3 separate regions of the Homo sapiens genome follow, and all the other regions are linked to region 3. Evidence: promoter capture Hi-C in 16 types of primary human blood cells and fetal thymus (Javierre and others, 2016). All regions are on one chromosome and are shown on one strand. Each heading gives the region's core, a stretch centred on a gene start or on the middle of the fragment in contact. The rest is flanking DNA. Distances are from core to core; before and after follow the strand shown.

The links. Contacts are between HindIII fragments. The CHiCAGO score rates a contact against its expected background, and 5 or more counts as called.
Region 1: a contact is called between a fragment that was not itself captured here and the fragment with the promoter of SMIM34 in region 3, in 4 of 17 cell types (M0 macrophages, naive B cells, M2 macrophages and 1 more). The highest score is 7.3, in M0 macrophages.
Region 2: a contact is called between a fragment that was not itself captured here and the fragment with the promoter of SMIM34 in region 3, in 5 of 17 cell types (M2 macrophages, endothelial precursors, M0 macrophages and 2 more). The highest score is 7.7, in M2 macrophages.

The regions. Positions count from the first base shown.
Region 1 is chr21:34,645,609-34,649,921 of GRCh38, reverse strand. No RefSeq gene overlaps it. Among named protein-coding and RNA genes, the nearest start is that of CLIC6, 21 kb to the left of the region's middle. The HindIII fragment of the contact is 3,295 bases long and covers 1,407-4,313 here.
Region 2 is chr21:34,594,321-34,598,866 of GRCh38, reverse strand. All of the region lies in intron 1 of RCAN1 (regulator of calcineurin 1), which reads left to right. Among named protein-coding and RNA genes, the nearest start is that of RCAN1, 19 kb to the left of the region's middle. The HindIII fragment of the contact is 8,670 bases long and covers 1-4,546 here.
Region 3 is chr21:34,422,480-34,426,922 of GRCh38, reverse strand. SMIM34 (small integral membrane protein 34) reads left to right here and starts at 2,972. Exons shown (of 2, transcript NM_001367348.2): 1 at 2,972-3,090. The coding sequence starts at 3,084. LOC105372793 (salivary glue protein Sgs-3) reads right to left here. Exons shown (of 6, transcript XR_001755015.2): 6 at 905-4,443. The HindIII fragment of the contact is 10,576 bases long and covers 1-4,443 here.

The DNA.
Region 1 (4,313 bases), core at 1,805-4,304, 220 kb before region 3:
GGGAACAAGGATTGCCAACAAAGAGGGACAGGGGACTTTGGGGGCTTATAAAATTTTTGTGTTTCAATATATGTGAATTGTATCTTAAAATACTCTAAATGTAATCCATATGCTAGTTACCTGAGTATTCCTCATCTTCTAGCTCTCTCTCAGTCTCACCTGGCTCCCTCTGCTCTAACCACCTGCATCTGCCCCATCTCAACCCTACCTCCACCTGCTACTCTCTTCGCTCCTCCTTGTCTTAGCCCAGGTGAATGCAGCCTCTTTTCTGTGGTTTTTCTAACATACCACCTCCCAGAAGGCAGTTGGACATAGTTAGGACATAATTTATAGCCAAACCCAAACACTTCTGAAAGTGAAAGTGATTACTCTGGGGCCACAGGTGCAAACCATGAGGCTATCCTGGAAAACTAGGATCCACAGCTCCTTGCTATGGGAGATGCTCACTCAAGGTTTGGGGCCAGTGATGGGCAGCGGGTTGGGGGCTGGTCCCTGCCCATGTCATCCCGAATCCTCTCTCAGCTTGCCCGCTTGCAACCCCCAAATCCCTCTTCATTTATTGTGCAAAGCAATTTATCATCCCTCTCTCTGCTTCATTCCTCACCCTGTTTCAAAGTCCAAAAGCCCAACAAGGGGCTCATACTAGTCAGGTCTCTCCCCTGGTATGATTCTACTGTCTGCTCTTGAACCCCCAGAGACAGTAGCAGTCATAGCTAGTGGGTCATGATTATTTAATATGCTGAGCTCTTCCTGTGGATTATATCACTCCTCCCTTTTAGGCCTCTGTGAGGTAATTAAAATCACTATGCCCATTTTACAGATAAGCAGACTGACGTTCTGCAGCATCAAATAACTCTGGAAAGCAGCAGAGCTAGGAGTTCAACCGAGGTGTCTGAGACAGCAGGTGCCCAGCAGAACCCTTACATCAGGCCAACATTGCCCTTGCCTTGTTCGGGGCACGGAGCACAGGTTTGCACGGAGCCAGTGTTTGCTGTCTGCCTGCCCCCACTCCACTGGCATGATTGCATTGTTTAAACAACCAAATGAACTCAACAGCTGACAAATAACCCAGTGGTTTCCATTGTATTTGGAGCTGTGTGAGCTCAAATGATCAGTGATGAGATCTGCCAAAGTGTGAGCTCATGAACTCCGGCTCAAGAACCAGGAGAATGTTTCTCCTCCACTCATGATAACCTTGTTCAGAATTGTGAAGTTGCTTCCCCTCAAGGCATTAAAACTTAGACTTGACACCACACCAGTAATTTCTCTATGACTCCAGATCTGTGAATGCAAGCTGAAAATGTAAATGGAGAATTCAGGTATTAGTCTAACTATTCCGTGGCTAAATGTGGAGAGTTAGAAATGCCTCCCGGGCGGATTTAACTTTTCCATTTCATCCAAAAGCTTGATAGTAAGGCAAAAACACCATGGCTTTATATAACTGATGTTCCCTTCTTTTTTAATGAATTTGTTGACAAGCTGGAGGGTAGGTACTTGAAATGTGTTTTTCTCATAGAAGTGAGATTGATAAATGGTGATTAGGTGTCCAGAGACGTTCATTCATGTGAGTCCTGGGAAGAGAGGGCCGAAAGGAGAGGATGGAAAAAAGAGAGTTTCATTCTCCTTTCTTGGACCCCAAATCAATCTACCATAAATGTTTGTAAAATGAGCAAGTCTCTGGAATCTTCCCACCCACTTCTCTGAGGGCGTAATGTTATACTTGAGAATTGCAGGCTCTTGGTTTCCTCTTACACATGAGGAACTCCCAATCTGCCCAGTCTCCCTCCAATCTGCCCAGTCTCCCTCCCTTCATCATCCCATCACCTGCCATCCCTCCTGAAATCAAAATTCTTATCCTGTTACCGAGTGTAAGTTCTATGAAGAGTTTTGAAGCTAGAACAGCAAACTCTTTTATGGTGCTGACGATATGCCAGGCACTACTATAAACACATAACATACATTAGCTCATATGATTAATATAATCCTTGACGTAAATGCTAACGATGTAAAGATGTGGGATAGAGAAGGTAAGCAATTTGCCCAAGGGCACACCGTCGGGAAGTGGTAGAGCCCCACAGTGCAGAGTGTACCCAGACAGCCTGGCTCCAGCGTCTGTGAACCTAACCCCATGAACGTAACCCTTCCTAAGGCTGGGGAAGCATGTGCCTGGTTGCAAGCATTGTGCCATGTGTGCATGCATTTAGCAGTCATGCACTGGGACCTGCTGGTTGCCAGCCACTGTGCTGGGGCCAGGGACACAGGGGTCACAAGGCCATCTAGTCTATGTCCTTGTGCAGCCACATTCCTGGGGGGCTTCAGACAATTAGACAAACAATGACAACATGAGGAAGTAAATGTTCTGCATATCTAGGAGTATTTAGGAGGAGTGCCCAACTGGGACCCAGGGCCAGGCCAGGTAGATGTGGGGAGGGTTGGTCAGCTCTGAGGTACACCTGAAGGATGAATAGAGGTTTTGCTGGCCAGGAAAAAGGTGGGAGATGGCATTCCAGGCAAGGAAAGGGCATGGGAAAAACCCAGAGCAAGGAGTATGCCAGGGAAAAAAGTTGTCTCAGTGAGGATGGAGCCAAGTGTGAACAGGGACAGCAGGCAACTGAGAGGCCTGGAGAGGCAGGCAAGGACTTCCCTTGGTTCTTACCTTTTAAATTTCTTTCATTTTTAGAGACAGGGTCTCACTCTCTTGACCAGGTTGGAGGTACAGTGGTGCAATCATGGCTCACTAAAGTCTTGCACTCCTGGGTTCAAGCAATCTTCCTGCCTTAGCCTCCCGAGTAGCTGGGACTAGAGGCACAAGCCACCACTCTTGGCTAATTTTTTATTTTCTATTATTTGTAGAAATGGGGTCTCACTGTGTTGCCCACGCTGGTCTCGAACTCCTGGCCTCAAATGATCCTCCCACCTCAGCCTCCCAAGGTATTGGGATTATAGGCATGAGCTACACACCCAGCCAAGGACTGCACTTTGAAGGGCCCCACAAGCCCCATCAGAAAGTCTGGGCTTTATCCGAAGAGCATTAAGGCACCCCAAGGGGCTGCCCACTGTGGGGTGGTATGGACCGCTGTGCATGTAGAACACGCAGGAGATGAGTTAGGAGGATGCAGTAGCAGTCCCAGGGGATGAAGGTGGCCTGGATGATGCCTTGGCCCCCACTCTCTACAAATCTAATGCAACCGCTTCCTGAAATCGAATGCAACCGCTTCCTGAAAAGTGGAGGCTCCAACCTTGGGAGTCCAGGACCTGAAAATTGTGCTGGGCTCAACATCAAAGAGTAATGGAGTGGGGGGTGTTGTCTGAAAAGGGCCTGACCAACTGCGGGGCTGTGATTTTTTTCCACCAGCAATTCTCAACCAGGGGCAATGTGCCAATGTCTGGAGACATTTTTGGTTGTCACAGCATGTGGGGGAGTACTACTGGTACCATGCGACCAGCCAGTGTTGCTCAAGGCTTTCTCTTCTTTCCTTTCCCACATTCCCAGAAAGGCTACAGGGCACCACTGGCCAGAGTTGGCTGGCGGCTCAATGCTGCGAAAATAACAAAAAAAGAACTGCTTATATTTACTTAAAGAAACACTGAAAGAGTAAACAAGAAATTGATCTAAATGGTTATGTAGGGGAAAGTGTGAGGGTGGGAATGATTCAACTCTGTGAATACTTTTGTAGAGTGTTTTTGACTTTTGATTCCTGTGCACTGATTACCAATTCAAAAATAATATTATTTTTAGCCGGGCGAAGTGGCTCACGCCTGTAATCCCTGCACTTTGGGAGGCCAAGACAGGTGGATCACCTGAGGTCAGGAGTTCAAGACCAGCCTGGCCAAAATGGTGAAACCTTGTCTCTACTAAAAATACAAAAATTAGCGAGGCATGGTGGCACTCGCCTATAATCCCAGCTACTCAGGAGACAGGCAGGAGAATCACTTGAACCCAGGAGGTGGAGTTTGCAGTGAGTCAAGACCACACCACTGAACTCCAGCCTGGGTGACAGAGTGAGAGATTCTGTCTTAAAATAATAATAATAATAAAGAAAGAAAAAATGTTTTTTTTAAAGAGATTAGCAATTCAGATTTCCAAACGTTAATCCCTTCTGGCCTTTATTTGTAAACTCTGGGTTTTTTTTTTCTTTTTTTTTTTTGAGACAGAGTCTCTCTCCGTCATCAGGATGAAGTGCAGTGGCGCCATCTTGGCTCACTGCAACCTCTGCCTTCTGGGTTCAAATGATTCTCTTGCCTCAGCCTCCCGGGTAGCTGGGATTGCAGGTGTGCACCACCACACCCAACTAATTTTTGTATTTTTAGTA
Region 2 (4,546 bases), core at 888-3,387, 170 kb before region 3:
TTTCCTCTATAAACTGATTGTGTATATCTTGCGCTACTTTTCTGGTGAGTTTATCGTCTGTACTTAGGAATATGTAAGTTATTTGCTTATTAAGGAAATTAGTACCTTACTGCACATATTACAGATATTTTCTCCAGTTTGCCATTTGATTTTATGGTGTTTTTACTCCATAGAATTTTGTATTATTTTTATTTGTAGTTCAGATGCAGAAATTTTGCCTTCCTTTCTCCTGAGGTTGTTTCATACCTAGGCCAAGATGTATAGGAGTAGGTTTTCTTCTAGAACTTGTACATTTTTGTTGTTGATGTTTGCTTTTAATTCACTGGACATTCTGGTATGAGGAGTGAGTTAGATTTCTGGTTTTCTCGTTTGCATGTTACCTGTGGGATGTTCCAATGTTGTTTGCTAAGCAGTGCTCTTTCTTTGAAGATTTGAAATACCACCTAAATGATCAAATATGCTCTTCTATCAGGATTCTTCTCTTGATCTTTTTGTTCATTTCTAAGCCAGTTTCATACTACTGTTTTCATGACTGTGATCTTACATTTTAGCGTGATTTAACAATTAATACAGTGAATTGTCCTATTCTTTTTTTCCAGTATTTGTTTTCCTGGCTAGTATCATTTGCTGCTTCTTCTTTGGGAACTCTAGAAGTATACTGTTACTTTCAAACTGTCCTCTACTCCCTTACAAGAATGAAAACGAAAATGGAACATCCAAACCTGTTAATATTTTGAGTGAGATTGCTTTGGGTTTATAGTTACTTAGGGAGAGTTGACGTCTTTACATCCTAGGTTCCTGTGGTGTTATTCTACTTATGTAAGCCATCTTTTCTCTACTCAGTACAGGGTGGAAGTTTTCTTTATATAGACCCTATCTATTTCTTTAATTTGTATTTATGTTTTAGATTCTTCAATATGAACATTTTTATGTAAATTTAAGAAATTATTTAAAAATGGGATTTTTAAATTACACTTATTTTTACCTCTATATAGAGAAGATTATTGTTTCTGTGTATTAATTTTGTAACCAACCACCTGTGCTAAAGCCTTTGACTATTTCTAATAGTTGATTCTTTTGCATTTTCTAGGTATAAAATCGTATCACCTGCAAATAATGATGATTTTTCCATCTTGTTTATAATACTTCAAATTGTATTTCAACATTATAGAGGCAGCAGATGGGTATTCTCATCTTATGGAAACACGCTAGTCTTTCACCACTGACCATAGCTTGGGTGTGGCAATATGGTATTTTATCTCACCTTCAGGTATCTTGATGACTTTCCCTGTTACAGACCTAGTTACCCCAACAGACACATCTAGCTTTCTTTCATTACTTTTACATAGGCTCCAAGCTGACACACAATTCTTCTTTAAAGAAGCAGCTTCCCGAACGTTCTGTGAGCCACATCTCCATCTGCACACTCTCGATGCTGCCCTGTGGAGGACTCCCTAGGGTGGTGGGAGTGTCCTGTATCCGCACTGTCCACTGCAGTAACCACTGGCCACTTGTGGCCACTGAGTGCTTGAAATGTGGTGGACATGACTGAGGAACTGAACTTTTAATTTTTTTCATTTTAATTAATTTTCATTTAAATTGTCATGTTATTGAGCACTTAAAATGTAGCTAGTACTACCGAGGAGTGTTTACTTTTGCTAATTTTCATTGACATAGCCCCATGTGGCTGGTAGCTGCAGAACTGGGCTGCACGGGTTCCTCGCTCATTCATGGAAGGGTAAGATATGAATGCTAGAAAGGCCCTGGTGGCCACTCATTGTGCCCAGAGATGCTGAGATTGGGCCCACATCACACAGCAAGTTCATGACGAAACTGAGACTGGGAGCCCAGGATTCTTACTCTCTGTCTCAAGCTGGTGTCACTGTCCAACCCCTTCTTTACTCCTCCCCTCCCATTTCCCTTCTGTAAGTTATCACCGAAGTCCCAGTGTGTGCAGACCAACGCACAGCACAGTGAGCAGGCCCGAGCCTCGCAGACACCTTCCCTAGTGTGGGTCCAGCCAAGGGCTGTGCAGTTGTTGAGTTTTCAGCCGAGCTCCTTCACTCCACAGTGCAAAGGTTCTCGCAAGATAAAGGCAGGGAGGCAAAGTCCTCGGCCCTTTGTCGAGGTGGAAAGCACCCTGAGGTACTGTGTTGGTGTTCCAACATCATCAGGAAATGCCCATCCCGGTTCGAATGTATTTTCCAGTGCTTCTAAAAGAAGACTTTCTGCATCTTCTGCATGGCAGCGGGGGTTGCTCCTGTCCCTGAGACGGCTCTAAACCTTACGAGAACCCAGCCTGCCGTGGTCAGGGAGTGGAGAGAATATAGAAAGCAGAGCCTTCGAGAAGGCCCTCAGCTGAGGCTCCAGTGGGCAAGGAGGCTTTCTCGGTCATGCAGGAGCCACAGCCCTGCTTGCACTTCGAGTTTTTTCTACTTTAGCCAACTCTTTCTCTCTTTCCCCAGTGAGGGGGTTCCCTGCATCAGTCCCTGGGCCCCTGTGGGTCTCCTCAGCCTTCCCTCCCAGTCGTTCATTCAAAAGAAGCAGGAGGGAACCACGCTACAGAGACTCTCGGCTTTTTCTGGAGGGCAGGAAGGCCTCCGCTTATACTGGAGGTCACCTGTTGGAGCTTAGAGGTTAAGAAGGCCGGGCACTTGAGCTTCTTCCTGGCACTGCTGCTCCCTGGTAGCATGGACATGGGTGCTTCAGTTTGCCCACTTGTAGGATGGGGCTCATAATAGCCACCTCACAGGGCTCCGGGGATGGGGACGTGAGTCCACAGACAGAAAGTGCCGAGAGTCCACTCTCCACAGATGTCAGCACTGATCCACACTAAGATGTCTTCTCTACCTGCTTCAAGGGCAGGTGACCTCCAGGAAGGGCCCCCTCTGCTCCTCGGCCAGAATCCTTGAGGCAGGCTTATCTGGGGAGCTTGGCCTGCATCTGCGTAGATGGACTGTGTGGGGGACCCCCAGACTCCCCTTTTCACACGTATGTCCCACCCCTGCCGGGGGGTGGTCAGCTTGTCTGACACCACAGGTCCCCAGCTCCTTGAGGCAGCCTGTCCGGCCTGCCCAGTGGCCCCCATCAGAGCCATCCAGGCAGCGTGTGAGTGGGTGTTGGGAGCAGTGCCCTTCCAGTGGCCGGCGAAGGCAGTGTGCATGCCTGAATCTGCTGCCAGTTGAGAAGTCAGCTCCTCAGGTGGGACAAGGACCCTGGCCTTCCTGGGAACCTGAGCAGATTGCGCAGTTTCCTTTTCTCAGCACGGCTCCTGCACTGGCTTACGTAACAGCAACAACCTGCAGAGCCTGGGCTCCGGGGCTCATTCCCAGACAGTGAAGTCTATGATGAATAGATGGGTCTGTACACTCTTAGCAGAGAGCCAGTAATTTGCTCAAAGGTCAAACTTAGCTTGATTCAGAACACAAAATTACTAGGATTCTATTCTTTCTGCGGGTGTTGCTTCTGTATTTTTCATGGTCAAGGAAAAGCTGTGAAGCACTTTCTTAGGGCTTAAGAGCTAAGGGATTTTTCCTCCTTTTTTGATGACCCTCTTTTCCAGCATCTCAGCACACCCCCAGATGGGAAGAGGCTATGATGAATTTCTCCCACCATTTATGCCACACCCACTCTGTGCCAGTTACTAGAGCAAGTGGTTTCCAGGTGTGTGTGTAAGGAAATGCTCTTAGTGCATTTGTTCTGTGTCAGGCACTGTTTTCCATAGTGTTTGTCCAGTGCCAGGTGCTGCTGTAAGTATGGCACTGCCTAGAAGTGTGAATGCATTTCATCCTCACATAAACCCTGTGAAGCAGATACTATGACTGTCCCCATTTTATGGATGGAGTCACTGAGGCATCTGGAGGTGAAGTAACTTGCCCATGTTGCACAGCTAAGTTGGAGGAGGGGGCAAGGTTTGAACCCAGGCCATCTTATTCCAGAGTTAGCATTCTTAACCACTACCCATGCTGCCTGTCCACCCTGGTCCCCCATTTCGTTTGCCACCCAGGATCCCTGTGAGGTATGCGCTTGTTACGATTCCATTTTACAGTGAAGACACGGAGGCCTGGCGAGTTTGTATGGGGGCCAGTGCCTGCTTGGGATTCCGATGCAACACCTGCAGGTCTGACTCCTAACACTGATCTCTGCTGTGCACCTGGCCCATTGGTCATTGTTATTTCTGAGCACCTGGACTGTGCCTTATTCAGTGCTCCTCACATTACGACTGTCAAATGCAAGTAACTGACTTAGGGGCCTGAGGGTCCCCTAAATGGGTACCTTGCCACCCTTCGTTTTGTTGTTGTTGTTGTTCTTGTTTTGAGATGGAGTCTCCCTCTGTTGCCAGGCTGGAGTGCAGTGGCGCGATCTTGGCTCAATGCAACCTCCGCCTCCTGGGTTCAAGCGATTCTCCTGTCCCAACCTCTGGAGTAACTGGGAGTACAGGCATGTGCTACCACACCCAGCTAATGCTTGTATTTTTAGTAGAGGTGGGGTTTCACCATGTTGGCCAGGATGGTCTCAATCTCTTGACCCCGTGATCCACCCACTT
Region 3 (4,443 bases), core at 1,723-4,222:
GTTTAAGGTCGTGGATATGCCTTGGCAGTAAGAGTTTATGATTTAACCTTTAGGGAAGTGATCGAGACAGTTCACCACACAGGATCCTGGGTCCAGCGTGAAGGTGACATTCAGGGTATGGAAGGAGAATGACTTTGGTGTGGATGACCCACCTCTGGCACCTATGAGCTATGGGACATTGGGCCAGTCACTTCCCTGAGCCTGAGTGTCCTCTCTTTAAATGGGGATAATACTCCTGCCTCACAGGATTCTGGGAGGTGGGAAGCATTTGACACAGATCTATTCCCTAACATCAGTGCCCCTTCAACAGGCAGACTAGACAGGACTCTCCGTGGAGGAGAATGGCTGCTCAACAAAAGGCCATCTTTCCTTCTGTCTCACGATTGTTTTGGAGCTTATGATTCCCCACATCTCATGCCAACGTCCTCCTGATCTGAATGTTAAATCTGTTGACTTCACAAATGAAACACTCTCCAAAGCCTCCACCTCTGGCACATTGGCTGCCCGGTGTGCTCTCCCTCATCTATTCAGATACCTCCCCAGAGAGCGGCTCTTCCCACACAGAGCCCCAGGCTTCTCTCCTGCCTTCTCAGGACCAAGGACATAAGATCCTGCTCATCCTTCACCTCCTTCACCACCTTCACCTCACAGATGAGGAAACTGAGGCTCACAAAGATGAGGGGGCTGGCCCAGGGTCATGCAGCAAGGATGTGGCTGGGGCCAGAGCCCTGACTCCCAGCCCTTATCACTGCCACGAGCCCCTTATTATCACGGGTCAGGTGCTCTCCCCTCCCACGTCCCACTGGCAGTGTCCAAATCCCTTGTCTGTGTGGCAGAGGGGGGATGCCATGGTCCATCCCATAGCAAGAGACAGCAGGAGCCAAATGAATCTTCAACAAAGATATCTAACAAATGGGTGCATTTATTATTGAATAGGTAATACACATACGGTTAAAAATATTTAAAGCATAAAAATATTTAGTGAGAGCTCTCCCTCCCACACCTGCCATATATCTACCTGGTTCTCTCCTCCAATAGGTAACCCCTCTTCTTAATTTCTTGGATATTCCACTGGTGTTTTAAATGCTTACAGTGGCAAAATCAGATATATATATATATGCTTCCTCTCAATTTTTGGATACATGTTAACATGCTCTCTTCTTTACCTTTTTCATAACAGCACACCTTAGAGAGCTTTATACATCAGTACATAAATAGCTTCCTCGTTCTTTTTCACAGCTGTGTAATACTCCATTGTATATGTATATTATAATTTTTTTTTTGAGATGGAGTTTCACTCTTATTGCCCAGGCTGGAGTGCAATGGCACAACCTCTGCTCACTGCAACCTCCGCCTCCTGGGTTCAAGCAATTCTCCTGCCTCAGCCTCCCAAGTAACTGGGATTACAGGCATGCTCCACTATGCCCGGCTAATTTTTTGTACTTTTAGTAGAGACAGGGTTTCTCCATGTTGGTCAGGCTGGTCTCGAACTCCCAACCTCAGGGGATCCACCCACCTCGGCCTCCCAAAGTGCTGGGATTACAGGTGTGAGCCACTGCACCCAGCTTGTATATTATAATTTTTAACAGTTTTATTGAAATATAATTCATATACCATAAAATTCATCCATTTAAAGTATGCATTCAATTTTTTTGTATATTCACAGATTGTGTACAGTGAGCACCACAATTTTAGAAGTTTTATTACCCCTCCAAAAATGCTATATACCCTTAGTTATCACCCCCAATCCCTCCCGCTAGTGAACCACTAATCTATTTTCTATCTTTGTAGATTTGCCTATTCTTGGCATTTCATATAAATGAAATCCTACAATATGTAGTCCTTTGTGACTGACTTCTTTTATTTAGCACAATGTTTGCAAGTTTCATCCGTGTTATGGCATATATCAGTACTTCATTCCTGTTTATTGCTGAATAACATTCCATTGTATGGATAAACCACATTTTATTTATTCATTAGTCAGTTGTTGGATATTTGGGTTGTTTCCATTTTTTGCTATTACAGATAATGCTGCTTTGAACATGTGTGTTCAAGTTTTTGTGTAAACTTACATTTTTATTTCTCCTGGGAAGATACCCAGGAGTAGAATTGCTGGATCATATGGCTTATTTTATAACTTACTTACCCAGTACCCCATTGATGGAAATTTCATCAAATTGTATCTTAAAAACCAGCAACCATCACAAACGTGGCAAGTTAGAGTCCTAGAGTGAGGATTAGGAAGAAATGGAACTGGAAACAATGGCTGGATGATTTAACTTGCCAGTCTTCCAACTTTTCCCTCCCTGCTCCTGGGGAAACTTTACCCGCAGACACTTACTCTAACACTTTCCAATTAAGCCTACCTCAACTCCAATGGGGTCTGTGACTCTGGGAAAGAGAAGAGCCATTTCTCACCACCTGGCACAGGAGTCCACTGCCCACTGACCCCTCAGGGAAAGCCCAAGTCCCCTCAGGTGTGTCACCCTTGGGGTGTCACTCCCTTCCTGTCTGGGTTTCCTCATCTGGGAGACTGTCCAGAGGAAGCTGGTGACTCTTGACCATGGAGTTTCCTGGCCCTATGATGACAGATCTCTGCCACACCTGGCCATCTGCCACACCTGCAACAGGTGCAGAACACAGGGGAATTCAATAGCCATCCAAGCTCTAAGCGGAGAGCCAGCCTCAGGGGGAGCTTCTGGCCACCTCAGTTCATGATGGGACCTGAGAGATGGAGATTCCTTAATACCAGCACGTTTTAAAAATTTGTTTTGATTGAGAACTTCTTAACAAGTCAAAGCTGGGAAGTGCTTTCTGTTCTGATGCAACAGAAGACACAGCAAATCGGATCCTCTGATTAATTGCATGAAAGCAAAGTCATCCACTTACTAAGTTTCTGTTTGGTGCTGCCCTAAGATTGTTGGAAGATCATATTACTCCCCACTCTGGAAACTCAGTGCAGCTCAACTGCAGTAGGACTGATTCTTCCCTAGGAGACGGAGTTCTCCTTTCATCATCTTCCCCTTCTGTGCATGGTAGCCGCTTGAACTTGCCCCTCCAAGAGTCAAGGACAAGACCACCCCATGGAATGTGAGTACTCAGCTACAATGCAAGGATGGGCAGGTTGAGATTTTACATATTTCACGTCATTAAATTACAAGTACAAAATAGCACAGAGGAAAAAGTTTCTCTCTTCTACAGGATATGTTTGTCCATTAAGATACAACCTAACTTACTTTTACCTTTGTAAGAAAGGTAAAATGTAATGTATTGCAGTAATTAATATAGTGAGTTTCTTTCGTGTAGAAAATGGACTGGTTTTTAAATAATTTAATGTTCTGTGTGTAGCTCTTAGTTGGGGATATTTTATTTGTATTTGAATGTGTTGCATCATTCTATGACAATTTCTAGAAAGTTCTATGAGTTTATACATGTGTTCTGAGTTTCAATAAGTTCTCTTGCCCTAATATAAGGATATTGTGTTCTTGTTGGGTTGATTTGCTGTCTGTTTGTTTGTTGCAATAATTACGGGAATTTTTCACCTTCCTTACTTTAATGTCTCAAACCATTCTACCAAACAATGGTGTAAATTTATGCTTGTGGTGTTGTTTCTTGCGAGTGACTAATTTTATGTAATTAAATCTGTTCATTTGTCCTGGGCTTTGTCACATGTAGTTTGAAAAGTAATTTTTAAATAGTTTCTTCCTTCATCTAAAAGTAATAAGCTCATTCACACATTCTGGCAACTAACTATAATAAAAAATACTGGCCTCTCTGAGTCTTGCGTTCGCAAAATGAATTAGCAACAAACAACGATCAAATGGGAAGCATTTTGGAGCACCTTTGTTCTGCACAGCAGGCTGCAAGATTGATCCTATGATGTGTTTTTAAATACATCTGTGTTCACATTAGAGCAAGAAATGGGGGTTTGAGCCAGTAAGGCCCCACTGGGAAATGTCTCACAGGATTGCACTCTACAGCTCTGGTTTTCATTGTTTCATTTTCTCCACCAGCTCTCCAAGCAGAGAAAACAGTTTTGAATTGAACAGCAATTGAGATCTTAATCTTCTGGTCTTACAAGGGCATACAACGGCTTTACCCAGGGGCACCTCACCAGGGAGACCAGAAAAGTACCAACTGGTACACTCTTGCTTTTCAAAAATAAGTATACACGGTACTAAGTGTACAAAAGGGCAAACAGTAAAAAATATATCTTCTTCCCCCAGGTTTCTTCCCCAGAGGCAATTGCAGATACTAATTTCTTATTCATTCTTCCAGAGATGTTCTATACATAAAAAAAGTACAAGCAAATAACATATAACTTCCCCCTTCTTTACAAGTGGCATTGCAGAGCATGTCACCATTAGCTTATTTTTTCACTTATTAACATTCAGTACCATAAAAAACTCATTGCTTTTTATGACTGTGTAGTACTCCACTGCA